Regions from separate parts of the Homo sapiens genome. Here regions 1, 2 and 4 are each linked to region 3. Evidence: promoter capture Hi-C in 16 types of primary human blood cells and fetal thymus (Javierre and others, 2016). All regions are on one chromosome and are shown on one strand. The core of a region is centred on a gene start or on the middle of the fragment in contact, and the rest is flanking DNA. Distances in the headings are between cores, read along the strand shown. Region 1 has its middle 18 kb from the start of AFF1-AS1. Region 2 overlaps C4orf36 (chromosome 4 open reading frame 36). Region 3 holds the start of PTPN13 (protein tyrosine phosphatase non-receptor type 13). Region 4 has its middle 5.7 kb from the start of SLC10A6.

Region 1 (4,191 bases), core at 89-2,588, 320 kb before region 3:
CCCTTGAGAACAAAAACTTTCACATCAGCAAGTCTTAGAGTTGCCAGGATAGGAAGAAACATTTTATAAGTGGGTTATTTGATACAGTAGTGAAAGGAGCCACTCTCACTCATACTCCTTGATTCCTGGACTCTTGTTCTGGCTGTGGAGGAGATGGCACTACATCACGGTCTCTGATTCAAAGCATATACTGCATCTTCCAAGTCAGAATCCGATCTTTAAAAGTGTGGTTTCACATCTGGCACTGCTGTGGTCTAAATGTTTATGTCCCCCCCAAAATTCATATGTTGAAATCCTTACCCCCAAGGTGATAGTATTTGGAAGTGGGGCCTTTGGGAGATGATTAGGTCAGGAGGGCATAGCCCTCATGAATGGGATTAGTGCCCTTAAAAATAAAAAAAGGACTGAGAGAGACCTGTCACCCCTTCTGCCATGTGACATTAGAGTGAAAAGAAGGCTGTCTATCCAGAAGAGACATCTCACCAGACACAGAAATGGATGGTACCTTGATCTTGCATTGCATAATGACATATTGGTCAATGACGGATGGTCCCATGTGATTACAGTAGAGTTGAAAAATTCCTATACCTACTGATAGTGCAACACATTATCTTTTCTATGTTTATACAAATACTTATCATTTCAACTGCCAATAGTATTCAGTACAGTAACATGCTGTAAAGGTTTGTAGCCTAGGAGGAGTAGGTTATCTCACATGGCCTAGGGGCGTAGGAGGCTATACCATCTAGGTTTGTGTAAGCACAGTCTAAGATGTTCACAGTGACAAAATCAGCTAACAACACACTTCTTAGAAGGTATTCTTGTTTTTATGTGATACATGACTAAATTCCTTCTTTCCTTCCTTCCTCCTTCCTTTCTCTTTCTCTTCTTCCCTCCCTCCCTTCCTCCCTCCTTCTTTCCCTTCCCTTCTCCTTCCTCCCTCCCTCACTCTCTCTTCCTTCCTTACTTTTCTTTCTCTTTCTCTCTCTTTTCTTTCTTCTTTTTCTCTTTCTTTCTCTCCCTTTCTTTTTCTTTATTTCTTTCTTTTCTTTCTTTCTTTTTCTCTTTCTCTCCCTTTCTTTTTCTTTCTCTCTCTCTTCCTCTCTTTCTCTCTCCTTCCTTCCTTCCTTTCCTTCCTTCCTTCCATCCTTTCCTTCCTTCCTTCCATCCTTCCTTCCTTCATCTCTCTCTCTCTCTCTTCCTTTCTTTATTTCTGTCTTTCCTCTTTTTTGAAGACAGGGTCTGATTCTGCTGCCCCGGGTGCAGTGAAGTGGCATGATCATAGCTCACTGCAGCCTCGAATTCCTGGGCTCAAGGGATTCATTCACCTCAACCTCCTGAATAGCTAGGGCTGCAGGCACACGCCACCAAGCCCAGCTAATTTTGTTATTTTTTTTGTAGAAATGGTGTCTTACTATGTTGCCCAGGCTGGTCTCGAACTCCTGGCCTTAAGAAATCTTCCCACCTTGGCCTCCCAGTGTTGGGATTGTAGGCTTGAGCCATCACACCCAGCTGTGATTGTAAATTTCTCTTGTTTATAACCACCTAGTCCATAGTATTTTCTTACTGGAGCTCAAACAGACTAAGACAGGCAGCATAAATGAGTTTTCAGTAAGCAATTTTGCCTTTAAGTTAGGGGAGCCACTTCTAGATGATGCAGTATCCGCATTCTATAGACATGAGTTCACTGCTGTATTCCCATTACCATGAAATGAGTTTCTTGAGCAGAAGCAGTGCTCTGTGGAATACCATGATGGTGGACAAGGTATTCTATGAGTCTGTGGAGGTTCTGGCAGAATCATTATGAATAGAAAAGGCATTTATACCCAGAATATGTGTCAATTCTAATGAGAATGAATTTCTGCCCTCTCAGTAATGGAAGAGTTCCAGTATAATCAGCCTGCTACCAGACAGCTGCTAATCATATGGCAATGGTGCCATATCAGGGGTCAGTGTTGGCATCTGCTGTTGGCAGATAAGGTGCTCAGCAATAGTGTCAGCCTGGCTAATCTTGATTAGGAGCTTCAGGAGAAGCTGTTGTTGAGTCCATGTCTAGCCTCCATTCCTGCCATCATGACCACTTTATTCATGTGCCCATTGAGTAAACATTAAGTGTCCGGAAAAAGTTTTTTTTTTTTTTTTTTTTGCATCCACATAGTATGTCATTTTGTCCTTTTGGTTATTCAGAGCATCCTCTGCTGTGAATTTCCCTTGATGAGCATTCACATAGACACACGTCTTTGTAGTCTATGTCCTTTCCAAGAGGTGCATCAACATACCTATTCCCCATACTTCTTTGTCACCAGTGTTTCAATCTTCTTCCTTTCTTGACCATCCAACCAAATTCTTAGCAACTGCACATAAATCAATGGAAGTACATACTTCTGTCCTCTTGTTCCAGACAAAGTAGATGTATTACTTTCCTAGGGCTGCTGTAACAAATGACCACAAACCAAGTGCCTTAAAGCAACAGAAATGTATTGTCTCATAGTTCTGGAGGCCAGAAGTCTGAAAGCAAAATGTCATCAGGCCATGCTGTCTCTCAAGCCTCTAGGGGAGAATTGTTCATTCCCTCTTCCTAGCTTCCGGTGGTTGCTGGCACTCCCTGGTGTTCCTTAGCTTGTAGACATATCACTGCAACCTCTGTCTCCATCATCACATGGCATTTTCCTTGTATATCTGAGTCCAAATTTCCCTCTTCTTTTTTATTTATTGTTTTCTTTTGAGACGGAGTTTCAGTCTTGTTGCCCAGGCTGGAGTGTAATGGTACAATCTTGGCTCACCGCAACCTCCGTCTCCTGGGTTCAAGTGATTCTCCTGCCTCAGCCTCCCAAGTAGCTGGGATTACAGGCATGCACCACCATGTCCAGCTAATTTTGTATTTTTAGTAGAGATGGGGTTTCTTTCTCCATGTTGATCAGGCTGGTCTTGAACTCCCAACCTCAGGTGATCCACCCCCCTCGGCCTCCCAAAGTGCTGGGATTACAGGCGTGAATCACCGTGCCCAGCCTTCCCTCCTTTAAGTACATCAGTCATTGAATTAAGGCCCACCCTAAAGCCATATGACTTCATCTTAACTTGATTACATCTGCCATGACTCTATTTCTGAATAATCACATTCACAGGTTTTGGGTGGACATGGAAGTAGCCTGATGTGAAGAGTCAGAACCTAAGGGGATTAGGAGGATATCCATTCATGGAAATGGCCCAGCACTGGTGCTGGAGCCCAAGAAAGGAGAGGAAGTCATCCATACATGGGAGCAACCTGGTGTGGGGAGTCAGAACTGGAGTGGGTGATGGAGGGTGCTTATACAGGGGGGCAGCTCAGAGAACACAAGAGCACAAATGGCATGGGAGGGCTTTCACCCACGAGCCTACGGTGGCCTAGTATTGCATATCAGAATACAATGGGGTGAGGAGGATGTTTGCATGGGGAGGGAATGAAAGAGGTGATGGGAGGTTGGTCATATACAGGAAGATTAATATATTCAGGTAAACTAATATGTCAAAGATAATGAGGGTCAGGTTTCTCACTGTCAGAAAAGGGATTAAAGTATAGAAATAGAGAAAATTAGTCATCGGTCCCCGTGGTGGGCCTGTTTGCATTGACTGCCCAGAGTCCATGAATCCTCCACTCCAAGCCCGTCCGGACTCCCCCGACCCCAGCTTTCTCTCCTTTGAAAACACTAAGAATAATGTCACTGCACCAGTTTTTATTAGAGCCAATCACCTATCGTGCCTGGAACAGGGATCATACCCAGATTGCCCTCAGTTCCAATAATCACCAAGTGCACATCTATAAGAAGAACGGAGCCGGGCGCTGTGGCTCACGCCTATAATTCCAGCACTTTGAGAGGCCTCGGCAGGTGGATCACGAGATCAGGAGTTCAAGACCAGCCTGGCCAAGATGGTGAAACCCCATCTCTACTAAAAATACAAAAATTAGCCAGGCATGGTGTGGCGGGCGCCTGTAATCCCAGCTACCCGGGAGGCTGAGGCAGGAGAATTGCTGGTACCCAAGAGGTGGAGGTTGCAGTGAGCTGAGATCGTGCCACTGCACTCCAGCCTGGGCGATAGAGCCAGACTCTGTCTCAAAAAAAAAAAAAAAAAAAAAAAAAAAGGAAGAAGAAGAACGGGAGCCGGGGGGTGAAAGCTCATGAACTCAAGGAGCACAACGGACATATCACAGGT
Region 2 (4,357 bases), core at 1,419-3,918, 290 kb before region 3:
AACTGGAAAGTATTGGATTTGGATGAATAATTTTTCTAGCATTTGAATCCAATAAAGCACACTTGGATATTAATGTTACATTTGAGCACAGTTTAGTATTTTTTAGATGATTCAGTAGGCATTTTAGGATCTTCTGGTATTTTTTTTTTCCCACCCAGGCTGGAGTGGAAGTTTCACTGTAACCTCTGCCTCCTGGGTTCAAGCAATTCTCATGCTTCAGTAACACGAGTGGCTGGGACTACAGGCATGCACCACCACACCTAGCTAATTTTTGTATTTTTTAGTAGAGATGGGATTTCACCATGTTGGCCAGGGTGGTCTCGAACTTCTGACCTCAAGTGATCTGCCCATCTTGGCCTCCCAAAGTGCTGGGATTACAGGTGTGAGCCACCGCGCCTGGCTGATCTTCTAGTATCTTAGCTTCATTTCATTATGAAAGGCACTGTGGCATACTGTTTAAGAATATAGACTTTAGACCTGGGTGCCTTTCTTCAAATCATAGCTCAGCTGCTTATTGCTGTGTGAGCTGGGATAAGTTACCTTGTTTCTGTGTTTGTTTTCTCATTTGTAAAATGGGGATAATACAGGTATACCTACTTCTTAAGATTAAATGAAAACTGCCAGGCACACAATGAGAATTACTCTAGTGTTAGACATTACTGTGAGTATCACTATCATTGTAATCTAGGTATAGAAGATATATTATATTGGGCTGATTCTCTTGATCTTTGTGCAGACCAGGAGTCTTGAAATTTAAAAAATTTGGTTTTATTCTTACAATATATATGTACTACTTGCCAAACTATCTGACCTGAATTTTTAGTTGAAAATATGGCCACTGTACCTATGGCAAATCCTGATCATTTCTCTTTAAAAATCATAATCCCTGATAATCAACTTGTCACTTATGTCTTTCTCTTAAAAGTAGCATGGAGAATTTGTGTGCAAAAATGTCACATCCTGATGTCCCCACTGTGTAACCCAGAAGCACAGATATCATTTTGTGGTCTGTCCTCTGGAGCCACCAGGGAGCCCTAAGCATGTCACACCTCACTCACAACCTGGCACTTTTAGTTAGTGGCATTAATTGTGGGTATAAGTAATATGCTTCCATCTGTTGTCCAAAAGACCATCAGGATGGCTAAATATTAGAAAGGAGAGTTTTATTGGTGATATCAGTTTGCGAATTGGGAAGAGAGTCTCTGAAGTGGACTGAAGGTGCTCTTTCTTCGAAGAGGGAAAGGGCAGGCTGGGTTTTAGGCCTCCCAGGGCGTGTATCACACAGTAAAGTAATACATATTCAGCAGGTTTTGGGGGGAAAGCTATACATATGTATGAAGGTAGTCAAGCACATGTGCAATGGGCAAACATATATGTAACATACTTCCCATGTTCACTTTGGGGTGGGGTTTTAGCATTAAAATAAGGTGGAGTTTGGCTCTATATCAAAAGTGAACTACAGGGCACAGACACAGTTCATGAGCAGCCTCTATAAGCTGGCAGAAACTGGCTTAAGGTCTGTAGTTGCTTTTCAGAAAAGAAGGTTTGTAAGGTTAGTCCTCTGCTCAATCAGAGTTGTAGTGGTGTGGGATGTAAATCAAGGTCAGGAGGGCTGTGATAGCTCCTGTTGTTATGGAATTTAGCAAGAGTGTGCTTTTTCTTCTAGGGGTAGGAATTTAGGAAGTTGTCATGCCAACTGAGCCCTGAGCCCTTGACACCATAATAATTTTTATTTCCTTAACCTTGTGGGCCATCTTAGTTGATAAAGAGGCATCTGTTCTGGTCTCTCAGATCACACATTCTTTTTCATAATGTTGAAAATGAATGAAACGTGTATCTGTAAAAAGTTTGCCAGAATAAAATATTTTAATATTCCTTGAGAAAAGATGGAATTTGAGAAAGCTTTGGTTCCTCATGATTTTCTTGAGAGAAGAGTCCTGCTTCCAGCTTTAAGATTCTCTTAATCATGATTTTAGGCAGGTGTTTCTGAACCTCTGAAAACTGCACATATTGAAATAAAATTACATTGCAAAATTCAGTAATATGTGTATATGTCTCTCCCTCTCTTGAAATGCCTTAAGAGCAGGAAAGGAATGCTTTCTTATGTTAGTGCTCCAATGCATAACTCATATAGGCACTCAATAGACGATCATTGATTGAAAATTTTCAGGGCCGGGCATGGAGGCGCACGCCTGTAATCCCAGCACTTTGGGAGGCTGAGATGGGTGGATCACCTGAGATCAGGAGTTCAAGACCAGCCTGGCCAACATGGTGAAACCCCGTCTCTACTAAAACTACAAAAAATTAGCCAGGCATGGTGGCATGCGCCTGTAATCCCAGCTACTTGGGAGGCTGAGGCAGGAGGAGAATCACTTGAACCCAGGAGGTGGAGGTTGCAGTGAGCCAAGATCACACCATTGCACTCCAGCCTGGGAGACAAGAGTGAAACTCCATCTCAAAAAAAAAAAAGAAAATTTCAGATGGTGAAAGATCCACAATAGAATGCACTTGATTGTTGCATTCTTATTTTTAATTTTTTTAATTAAAAGAATTTTTTTAGAGACAGGATCTGGCTCTGTTGCCCAGGCTGGGGCGTAGTAGCATGATCATTACTCGCTTCAACTTTGAACTCCTAAGTTCAAGCAATCCCAGCTACTTGGGACTATAGCTGCCTATGGTCCCACCATGCGTGGCTAATTTTTTTGGTATTCTTTTTAAGATAGGATACTTTTTAAAAATCAGGAGATAGCCATGATATGATTGAATATGGGACTAAAACAGTTCAAGACAAAGGTCAGAATGAACAAATATACCATTTTTACGTAAAACATTTTAAGGTTATAACAATTTAATTAAAACTGATAACAATTCAACTTCAGTGGCATGCAAAAATTCTACTTCTTTACATCTCCACTTTCCCCTACTTTGGTATTGATGTCAGAAATTACATCTTTCTATATTGTGTATTCATTAACATAATTTATAGTTATTTTTCATGCTTTTGTATTTTAGATTCTATGCCAAACTTAAAAGTGATCTACACAACAACATTACACTACTTACAATACTATAGAATTTTATATATAGATAGAGAAACCTTTTTTTTTTTTTTTTTGAGGCGGAATCTCACTCTGTTGCCCAGGCTGGAGTCGAGTGGTGTGATCTCAGCTCACTGCAACCTCCACCTCCTGGGTTCATGCAATTTTCCTGCCTCAGCCTCCTGAATAGCTGGGATTACAGGCATGTGCCACCATGCCCAGCTAATTTTAGTAGAGACAGGATTTTGCCATGTTGACCAGCCTTGTCTCAAACTCCTGACCTCAGGTGATCTGCCTGCCTCAGCCTCCCAAAGTGCTAGGACTACAGGCATGAGCCACTGCACCTGGCCTAATTCTACATTTTATCTACATATTTACCTTTATCAGAAAGCTTTATATTTTTCTATGGTTTTATGTTGCTGTCTAGTGTCTTTTTGTTTCAACTTGAAGGAGTCTCTTTAGTATTTCTTGTAGGGGTAAGGCCTAGTGGTAACGAACCTCCTCAGCTTTTGTTTATCTGGGAAAGTTTTAATTTCTTTTTAATTTTTGAAGGACAGTTTTGCCACACATAGTGTTGTTGGTTGGCAGTTTTTTCCCTTTTAGCACTTCAAATATATTACCTCACTCCCTTCTGGCCTGGAGGGTTTCTTTTATTTGAGACGGAGTCTCGCTCTGTCACCCAGGCTGGAGTGCAGTGGCGCAATCTTGGCTTACTGCAACCTCCAACTCCTGGGCTCAAGCAATTCTCTGCCTCATGCTCCCAAGTAGCACCACCACGCCTGGCTAATTTTGGATTTTTAGTAGAGACAGGGTTTCACCATGTTGGTCAGGCTGGTCTCGAACTCCTGACCTCAACTGATCTGTTCACCTTGGCCTCCCAAGGTGCTGGGAGTATTGGTGGGAGCCACCACACTTTGCCCTGGCCTGCAGGGTTTCTGCTAAAAAATCTGCTGGTAGGCTGGGCTCAGTGGTTCACACCTGTAATCCCAGAAGGTTGGGAGGCCAAGGTGGGAGGATTGCTTGAGACCAGGAGTTTAAGAACAGCTTGAGCAATACGGTGAGACCTCATCTCTACAAAAAATAAAAAGAAAATTATCCAGGCATGGTAGTGTGTGCCTATAGTCACAGTTACTCCAGAGGCTGAGGCAGGAGGATTGCTTGAGCCCAGGAGTTCGAGGCTGCAGTGAGCTATGATGATGCCACTGCACTCTAGCTTGGGTGACAGAGCAAGATCCTATCTCAAAAAAAAAAAAAAAAAGAAACAAAACAAACTGCTTATAGTCTAATAAGATCTCCCTAGTATGTGATGAGTCACTTTT
Region 3 (4,138 bases), core at 1,166-3,665:
AAAAATATACACCCCATTGATACGGGAGAAGCTACAACACTTCCCCATCCAATCCTTAACACATTAAAGACAGAACAAATCAACACCCGTTTTTCTCAATAACAAAGAATACATAAATTTCATTCATTTAAAGATGAACACCTATCATTTATATTATCTACTCCAAAACAAATGATTAGCTAATTCTCACATTCACATACCGTATTTAGGAGGCAGCCCTCAAAAACAACAACAAAAAGATGACCTAAGTTTTATAACGTGACCCCATCATAGAATTAAAATCTGACTTTTAAATTGACACTGGTTTTAATGGTGTGCGTGTATGTTACTTGTGACATGAAAAGCCATTTATATTTTTGGATGCTGGTAATCACCCTCCAAAATATAACTAGGCTTTACATGCAAGTAAAAATGGTGGGACAAATGCAAATTCAAAGATAAACCTACATAATGGTAAAGCAAGCTATCATTCTCTAATTGTAAAAGTGAAAAACACTATGAAATCAGTCCTTTTCTTAACAACTAACCTCAAATATTTTTCTGTTTTTAGTTCTAATTTCCATCCTATCCTCTCCCCACACATACTCCCACAAAGCCTCTAGAACATCAAGTAGAACACAATGTTATGAACAAAGTATAATAAACAAGATTGGACGTCAGTCAGTGCGCCTCTGTATAAATTTACTAAATCAATATATGTATGAATTTACTAACAAATGCTCCTAGTGATATTAAAACGAGAAATAATTTGTATATTGGCACCACTACAAGCAGCCAATGAGCATGAAGCAAGTTTTCACCTGGACCCTGCCAACACAGTCATGAAGACTTTAGGAAAATACCTAAGCTTGTTTCATAATACATGCACTTTTACTCCCCCCCCCATCCTTTAGTAAACTTTCTAGATATAAATTTTAAAATCTTAAAATTTATAATTAGTTACCAGCGCCCTTCATCCCACAGATCAGGTGTCCTACATTTTGTTCAGGTCCTGCCTTGAAAACAAACCCGATTGCCCCATTTTCTGCGAGGGAGCTCAGCTCCAGGCAGCTCCCTATGAAGTCACCGCGTTTGTTGTTTCAAAGATGCAATTAAATGAAAATGACACAAGGCTGTCGAACAGATTAGTTGGAAGTGTGCGGTGGTGTCGATCATATACGTGTATGGCCAATGAAAACTGTATTGCTGTAAATCTCTTAGTGATATTTCTCCCCATCCTCCTCTCTCCATTATATTCACAACAGAAGGAAATTAAACTTTGTAAGAATTTTCTTGACTTTGGTTTAACTTTAGCTTCCCAGCTGTCTGCTCTTACAGTATCACGTAATGAGCAAAGCGGTGGGGCTAGGGGGCCGGAGGGTAGAGTGTTAACTTTAGCAAGCAGAAGAAAAGCAATAAAAGACCTTGCATCAGACAGTGTCTCTCCCTCTGCCCCCTCTTCCTCTGCTTCCCCGCCATCCCACCCCCTTCTCGAGCCCTTACACACACATTCTTCTGGGCGGCCTCTAACCACACCATCTCCACAATCATTTGCAGAAATTAGAAACAGACTCCGGGAGCCCTTCCCTTAAGCACGCACAGAGCGGAGCTGTGCAAGCACGACGGGGCAATGTCACTCCCTATTACCCCACAATCTCTTACTCCCCCTGTGGGTTTCATTCCCGAGAATCCGGCTTTCTTCCGCAGAGGAGATGGATCTACCTAATTAGCAATGGAGTTTCATCTCATTCTTCCCCACTCCAGTCACCCCACCCCCACTCTAACGTACAAAAACACCCACCACCAAAACCAAAGAAAAGTTCCTTCTACCAGGGCAACCGAGGAGTTGGGTTTAGGGACTGGAGCGAAAGCAGAGAGAGGAGGAAGAGAACGAGCGCAATGTACTTTGTTTTGCACTTCTGCACATGCAGCGCAGAGCCCAGGGCGGCTCTCGTCCTTACCGGCTGGTCCCGAGACCGGGTCCTGCTACTGGAGCGCCGGGCGAGGGCTGCAGGGACGCGGCGTCGGGGCGGGCCGCCGGCAGCCGCCGCGGGCGCCGAGAGCCACCACCACTTCTCCCACAAGCGGCTGCGGGCGTGGGCTGAAGGAGCTGTAGAAGGAGCCTGGGGAGGGGGAGAAGAGGAGCAGCATCTCCTCCTCCTCCTCCTCGCCTCGGAAACGCTCCCCAGCGGCGATCCCGGCCGACTGCCTGACCCCCGAGCGCTCAACGCACCCCCGCCGCCCTACTGTGCTCGACGCCTCTCCAAGAGCTTCGCCAAAACCTTCTGGCGCGGGCGGCTCAACTCCTGTAGGCGACTCTGACCGCTGCCGAGGCGGACCGGGGAGCTACGGAGCACGGCTCGCCAGCACGACGGTCTCCAGGGGCCGTGAGCATGGTGTGTCACCCTCGCCTCAGCGTGGCCGCTGGAGCTACTCGCACCACTGGGGCTCCACCTCGGGCAGCCGCGCCGGCTCCGCCCCCCCGGTCCTGTCACTCAACCATTCCCCGGCACTGGGAGGACCGCAGATCTCCCACCCCGAGCTCCCCTCGACCTCATTGGCCCGCCTGGCATCCAGCTCCACCTCCTCCCTAGGGACGAGGTCGCCAGGGAGACCAGCGCCCCGGTTGCCATGACAACCAGTGCCTTGGGCCTGGCTTTTCGCGTTCTTCGGACTAGCCAGAGGCTCAGGTTGGTGACCGAGCGGCAGAGTTCCTAGCGCCTGCAGTGTGGTGAACTCCAACTTTTAGGCCAAGTTGAAAATGCAGCCGACGACCCCCACACTTCTAACTTCAGAATCAAAACTATGACCCTAGGGAGTGAGGAGGAGAGTGAAAAATGCGTAAGTGCTGGCTCCTCCCTTACTCTTCGCTGCCTCTCAGCCTTGTTTCTATATTCTCACGGGGCGCTTTGGTCTTTGAAAGGAAGAGGAGAATGGGGGAGAGGAAGAGCATGGCTTTGCCAGCTCCTTGCAGCAATATAGCAACTTAGAAATGGCGGGGTCAACGAAAAAAGCCCGGTGAGTTTTCCCACGGTTGTAAAGCTATCTTCAAAAGTGTGGTGACAGCACAACGCCAAATGCCCTAGGGAAAACTGAAATTCTCATATTTTTGAAAAAAGTTTGTAAATACTTGCCTTGTTATTTTATCTATGAGACTAAAATAATCCCGAAGTTTGAAAATTTAAGGAAAAGGTTTAACATAGTCGATAACCTCCCACTTTTCTATATACACTGAAATTTGGCCAAGGTATATCCAGACAGCTGTACCCCTCCTTGCTGCAAGCCGAAATATTTGAGTTTCAATAGTTAAACAAGAGAGTCTTGCTGAATTCATGAACAAATAATATCCTGTGATTTGAGTTTTGAAAGTTTTGGGTTATTCTCAGAGGTATAAGGTAAACTGGTCCACTCTGGAAAGGGTACCTGAAGATAAATTTAGTCTGAGACCCTTAATGTTGAGCCCTAGGTAAATCTGAATTTCATGGCTGGCTCCAAAGTGGAGAGATCTGAGGCTTATTTGGCTTCCCCAAAAAAAGTCAAAGCAGCAATCCTAGGTTCCCTAGCCCCTGAGGCTGCCATACATGTATGATGAATGAGGGAATTAATAGTAATGATTTATCTTTGGCGAGCACTTGAGTTTTCATTATATCATTTACTAAATGAATAACTATGATAGATATCTTCAGTCAAATATGCCTTACAAGTATGCATTGAATGTGATTACTCATAGGGCTAAACACAACGGAAAATACACAGCAGGATTTTAAGCTAAGTCCCCGCTCCCAAGGAGCTAACCTGGAGCCTAAGAAAGAAAACTAGCACTCTTGAAACAATTTGAGAACAATTATAGCTAAAATGTGCAGCCAAACTTTGAGTAGGTAGCAGCTAAGAGAAAGTTTGCTATGTAAAATGGGCTGGATTCCTCAGTTTATGGAAGAGGGGAATTTACACTGGGCTTTGATGAATGCAGCAAAGATGAGGAAAGTCAGTTGAGGGGAACAACAAAAACTAAACAGCAGCAGCAGGGATAAGTGGTGAAAGTAAATAACAGGCCAGGCTCCTTGGATGGGAAACACAAGTGGATGATTGGAGCCCTTTTCTCAGTTCTTCCCCCATTTTTAAATGTTCTGGATCATCTATCAGGGAGGTAGGAAAGGCA
Region 4 (4,239 bases), core at 1,620-4,119, 260 kb before region 3:
CAGGAGAAAAGGAGTAGCCTTTTTTTTTTTTTTTTTTGATCCTGACATTGTTATTTTTCTGGGTTAGATGAAACAGATGTTATTAATAACAACGATCACCACAATAGCTAATATTTACTGAGCATTTATAATGCCCCAGGCATAGTAGCTAGAAATGGTCAGATGAGAAGGCTGGAAGTTTATACCAGATGCCTGGGATTGATCTCTAGTTTTCCTAAGAAATGCTTTAGCTCAACAGCACTCTTTGTTCAGATTAGTTTTGTCTAGAGTGTTAGGTGCATATCCTCCTGGCCTAGCAATTTAGGATGAAGAAAAATACTTCTGTTCTTTTGTAGTTATGGCCTTAGGGTTGAACTTCTGTTTAGAAAGTATAAGGAAAGGATAAATGACCACTTTACTATTAGTGAAAAATGTCTCATTTGCTCTGGTTTCATCTCCTTTCTTGGGGGCTCTTGGTTGACGTGGTGAAGGATCTGTTTTGCTTATGTATTCTTTTAGGGAGGCCACTGTAAAGTAGTTTAGAACCTAGGATGAGTGCTGGGAAATATTTTCTGTATTTAGGATCATGAATGTTTTAATCAGGTAATTACTTCAAAATAAAAGTTATTCAGACCTATAAATTAAAATACTACCCTTTCAGCCTGGATATTATTCTTTCAGAATGCCAGTTAACATGTTTTCCATGCACCTGTATTTAGACCTCGAAAGGCACATGAATTAAAGGTTTAGGGTTGGCAAGGTGAGTAGTAGTAATCAGGATGTGGTTTAGTTTGAGTCGCAAGAATAATAGTTTATACAAGTGAAACCCATGAACTTTTATTATTTTACTTTTCATATACAGTATAGGCTCAGGAGTCAACCTCTACCATCTTGCTGTTCTGTTTACTACCTTAGTCTGTGGTAAGTTGCTTAATTGCAATCAGCCTTTCTTCACTTATGGGCCAATGAAGGTAATAATGATACCTACTTGATAAGGTTGTTGGGAGGAGGATATGAATTACCTAAGGGACCTGCTACATGGAAGACCCTGTGATAGGTCCTCAGGTAATATGTTTAGGAAAGACTCAACAAATGGCAGTTATTATCGTAGAAAATCAGTATGAGTAATTTGCTCTTATGGCTGACAAACCCCATTAATCTCATTTATTACAACTTGTAATGCATTTTCTTCTCATAATTCTAGGATTTAAGTAGGCGATGAGAATTTATGTTTATAAGCTTAATAACATCTGATCTGATGAGCTGCAGTCAGAAAAGATTGTTGGGAAAAGGACCACAAATAATACTATAAATAGCATGCTACCAGTGCAGGGTAAACAAGTCTTTCCAGTTAGTTTTGTTGACAGGATACTTTGTTTTACCTTCTGGTCATTTTATCCTGAAGGTGGAGCAGGTGCCGTTTCAGGCTAAGCACTTTGCAGTCCCATCTACTACCCTTCTCCAGGTCCTGACTTGGCCTCTAGGTCCTGACTTGGCCTGTCCATTCTTCTCATGTCCTTGCATTTCATTTTCTGCAGGCATCACTTACTGGAAGCTTTGGTATTTATTAGGCTCCCTTGTAAAATCCTAAGAACAAAGACAATTGAGTCATCTCAACAGTCCAGCTCCTCATGGAGTCATCAGGATGTTATCAGCCTGTAGGAGTTACTGGAAATAACCACGACTCCTTCTATTTTTATTCCTTTTCCTTCAGTTCCTTTTTTCTCAATTATAAAAATGGTAATTGCTAGCCATTTCAAAGATAGCAGATAGTACAAAAAATATAAAGAAGAACAAATCATCACTAATTCAGCATACAGAAGCAATCATTATGAAAATTTTAGTGTTTCTCCATTTAGTTGCTTATTATTTTAACATGGCTAGGAGGATTCTGTTTGCCTATCGATAAGAAAAAATGATCATGTTTAATCTTGTAAATATTTCTCCTTGTTAAAATGTTTACTTTTTAAAAAGTTTTTTAAATTTTTATTTTTTGAGGCAGGATGTCACTCTGTCACCCAGGCTGGAGTGCAGTGGTGTGATCATGGCTCAGTGTAGCTTAGACCTCCCAAGCTCAAGTGATTCTTCCACCTCTTCCTCCTGAGTAGCTCGGACTACAGGTGCATGCCACCAGGACCGGCTAATTAAAAAAAATTTTTTTTGTAGAGACAGAGTCTCACTATGTTGCTCAGACTGGTCTAGAACTCCTGGGCTCAAGTGATCCTCCCACCTTGGCCTCCCAAAGTGCTGGGATTACAGGGGTGAGCCACTGTACCTCTCCCGCTTACATTAAAAAAAGCTCCATATCACCTCATTGTATGGTTGTACTATAATTTACTTAATCAGTCTCTCTTTGGACATTTAAGTTGGCCTAGTTTTCTGCTTTTATAAATATGCTGTTATAAATAGGAATGTATTTATAAATAACAATACTATTATAAATAGGAACATCCGCCCCAAAGAAATAATAAATCTTGGCTGGGTGCGGTGGGTCACACCTGTAATCCTAGCACTTTGGGAGGCCAAGGTGGGCAGATCACGAGGTCAAGAGATGGAAACCATCTGGCCAACATGGTGAAGTCCCATCTGTACTCAAAATACAAAAAAATTAGCTGGGCGTGGTGGCACCTGTAGTCCCAGCTACTCAGGAGGCTGAGGCAGGAGAATCACTTGAACCCGGGAGGCAGAGGTTGCAGTGAGCTGAGATCATGCCACTGCAATCCAGCCTGGCGACAGAGCGAAAAAAAATAATAAATCTTTGCCAATATTGAAGTTCGTTTATTAAAACATCTTCTTAATAAACAAAGGCTCTTAGTACATATTGCCAGACTTTACCCAGAAAGGTTTTATGAATTTTATTTCCCACCTGCAGTATATGAGAATGTATCTTTCACTCAACTCTTAAAAGCTGGGGATATTTACCTTAAAATTGCATATTCTTGTTGTTATGCAAAACATGTTATCTTATTTCACTGTACTTTAAAAAAAATTAGTAGTGATGGCCAGGTGCAGTGGCTTGCACCTGCAGTCCCAGCACTTTGGGAGGCCGAGGTAGGGGGATTGCTTAAGCCCAAGAATTCGAAACCAGCCTGGGCAACATGGAGAAATCCCATCTCTACAAAAAATATAAAAATTAACCAGGCATGGTAGTGTGCGCCTGTGGTCCCAGCTACCTGGGAGCTGAGGTGGGAAGATCACCTAAGCTCCAGAGGTCAATGCTTCAGTGAGCCATAATAGCACCATTGTACTCCAGCCTGGGTGACAGAATGAAACCCTGTCTCAAAAAAACAAAAAAAACTAAAAAAACTAGTGGTGATGTTGTCCTAATTTCTGTTTTCTTTTCTTCTTTTCTTTTCTTTTCTTTTTTTTTTTTTTTTGAGATGGAGTCTTGCTCTGTCACTCAGGCTGGAGTGGAATGGCATGATCTTGGCTCACTGCAACCTCTCACTCCCAGGTTCATGTGATTCTCCTGCCTCAGCCTCCCAAGTAGCTGGGAATACAGGTACCCACCACCACGCCCAGCTAATTTTTGTATTTTTAGTGGAGACAGGGTTTCATCATGTTGGTCAGGCTGATCTTGAACTCCTGACCTCAGGTGATCCTCCCACCTCAGCCTCCTAAAGTGCTGGGATTACAGGTGTGAGCCACCACGCCTGGCTGTTTTCTGCTGCTATAACAGAGTACCACGGACAAAGTAATTTATAAAGAAAAGATATTTATTTCGTTCATTGTTCTGGAGGCTGGGAAGCCCAAAATCATGGGCTTCCCAAAGGGTCACATCTGGCCAGGGCCTTCTTGCTGCATCGTAACATGTCAGAAGGCATCACATGGCATTCCCACTATAACGAACCCATTCTTCCCCACTATAACAGCATTCATCTATCCAGAGCCCTCATGACCTAATTACCTCTTAAAGGGCCCACTTCTCAACATTGTTAAAATGACAATTAAATGTCAACATGAGTTTTGGAAGGGACACTACAACCATGGAAGATGTTGATCACTTTTTTTCAAGTATTTTGTCTTTTTTTCTGGGAAGTGATAGTGTTTTTATTGTTGAGTTAAAAAAATACTGAATTTGGCTTTTTACCTTGTGTCATGTCTGAGTAAACAGTCTACTTTTTCCATTACTGCCAATTTCCTTTATATCTGTTTTGGATTTATCTCTCATGAATTTACGTAAACTCTTTTTGAACCTATAGGATTTTTCTGTCTTTCAAGCTTCTAGAAGTTTTACCCTGTGCTGCCTTTCAGAGCGTG

Evidence for each region. Contacts are between HindIII fragments. The CHiCAGO score rates a contact against its expected background, and 5 or more counts as called.
Region 1: a contact is called between a fragment that was not itself captured here and the fragment with the promoter of PTPN13 in region 3, in 1 of 17 cell types (megakaryocytes). The highest score is 5.3, in megakaryocytes.
Region 2: a fragment that was not itself captured here is called in contact with the fragment with the promoter of PTPN13 in region 3 in 1 of 17 cell types (megakaryocytes); the score reaches 7.9 in megakaryocytes.
Region 4: a contact is called between a fragment that was not itself captured here and the fragment with the promoter of PTPN13 in region 3, in 1 of 17 cell types (megakaryocytes). The highest score is 5.9, in megakaryocytes.

The regions. Positions count from the first base shown.
Region 1 is chr4:86,914,321-86,918,511 of GRCh38, reverse strand. It overlaps a transcript of C4orf36 not described here and the pseudogene ARPC1AP4. Among named protein-coding and RNA genes, the nearest start is that of AFF1-AS1, 18 kb to the left of the region's middle. RefSeq lists an enhancer at 3,025-3,524. The HindIII fragment of the contact is 8,282 bases long and covers 1-4,191 here.
Region 2 is chr4:86,879,791-86,884,147 of GRCh38, reverse strand. The region is part of intron 4 of C4orf36 (chromosome 4 open reading frame 36); the gene reads left to right. Among named protein-coding and RNA genes, the nearest start is that of C4orf36, 10 kb to the left of the region's middle. The HindIII fragment of the contact is 1,527 bases long and covers 1,905-3,431 here.
Region 3 is chr4:86,592,592-86,596,729 of GRCh38, reverse strand. It overlaps PTPN13 (protein tyrosine phosphatase non-receptor type 13), which reads right to left and starts at 2,415. Exons shown (of 48, transcript NM_080683.3): 1 at 1,941-2,415. It also overlaps a transcript of MAPK10 not described here. RefSeq lists an enhancer at 2,178-2,764. The HindIII fragment of the contact is 4,151 bases long and covers 850-4,138 here.
Region 4 is chr4:86,852,999-86,857,237 of GRCh38, reverse strand. No RefSeq gene overlaps it. Among named protein-coding and RNA genes, the nearest start is that of SLC10A6, 5.7 kb to the right of the region's middle. The HindIII fragment of the contact is 2,666 bases long and covers 1,537-4,202 here.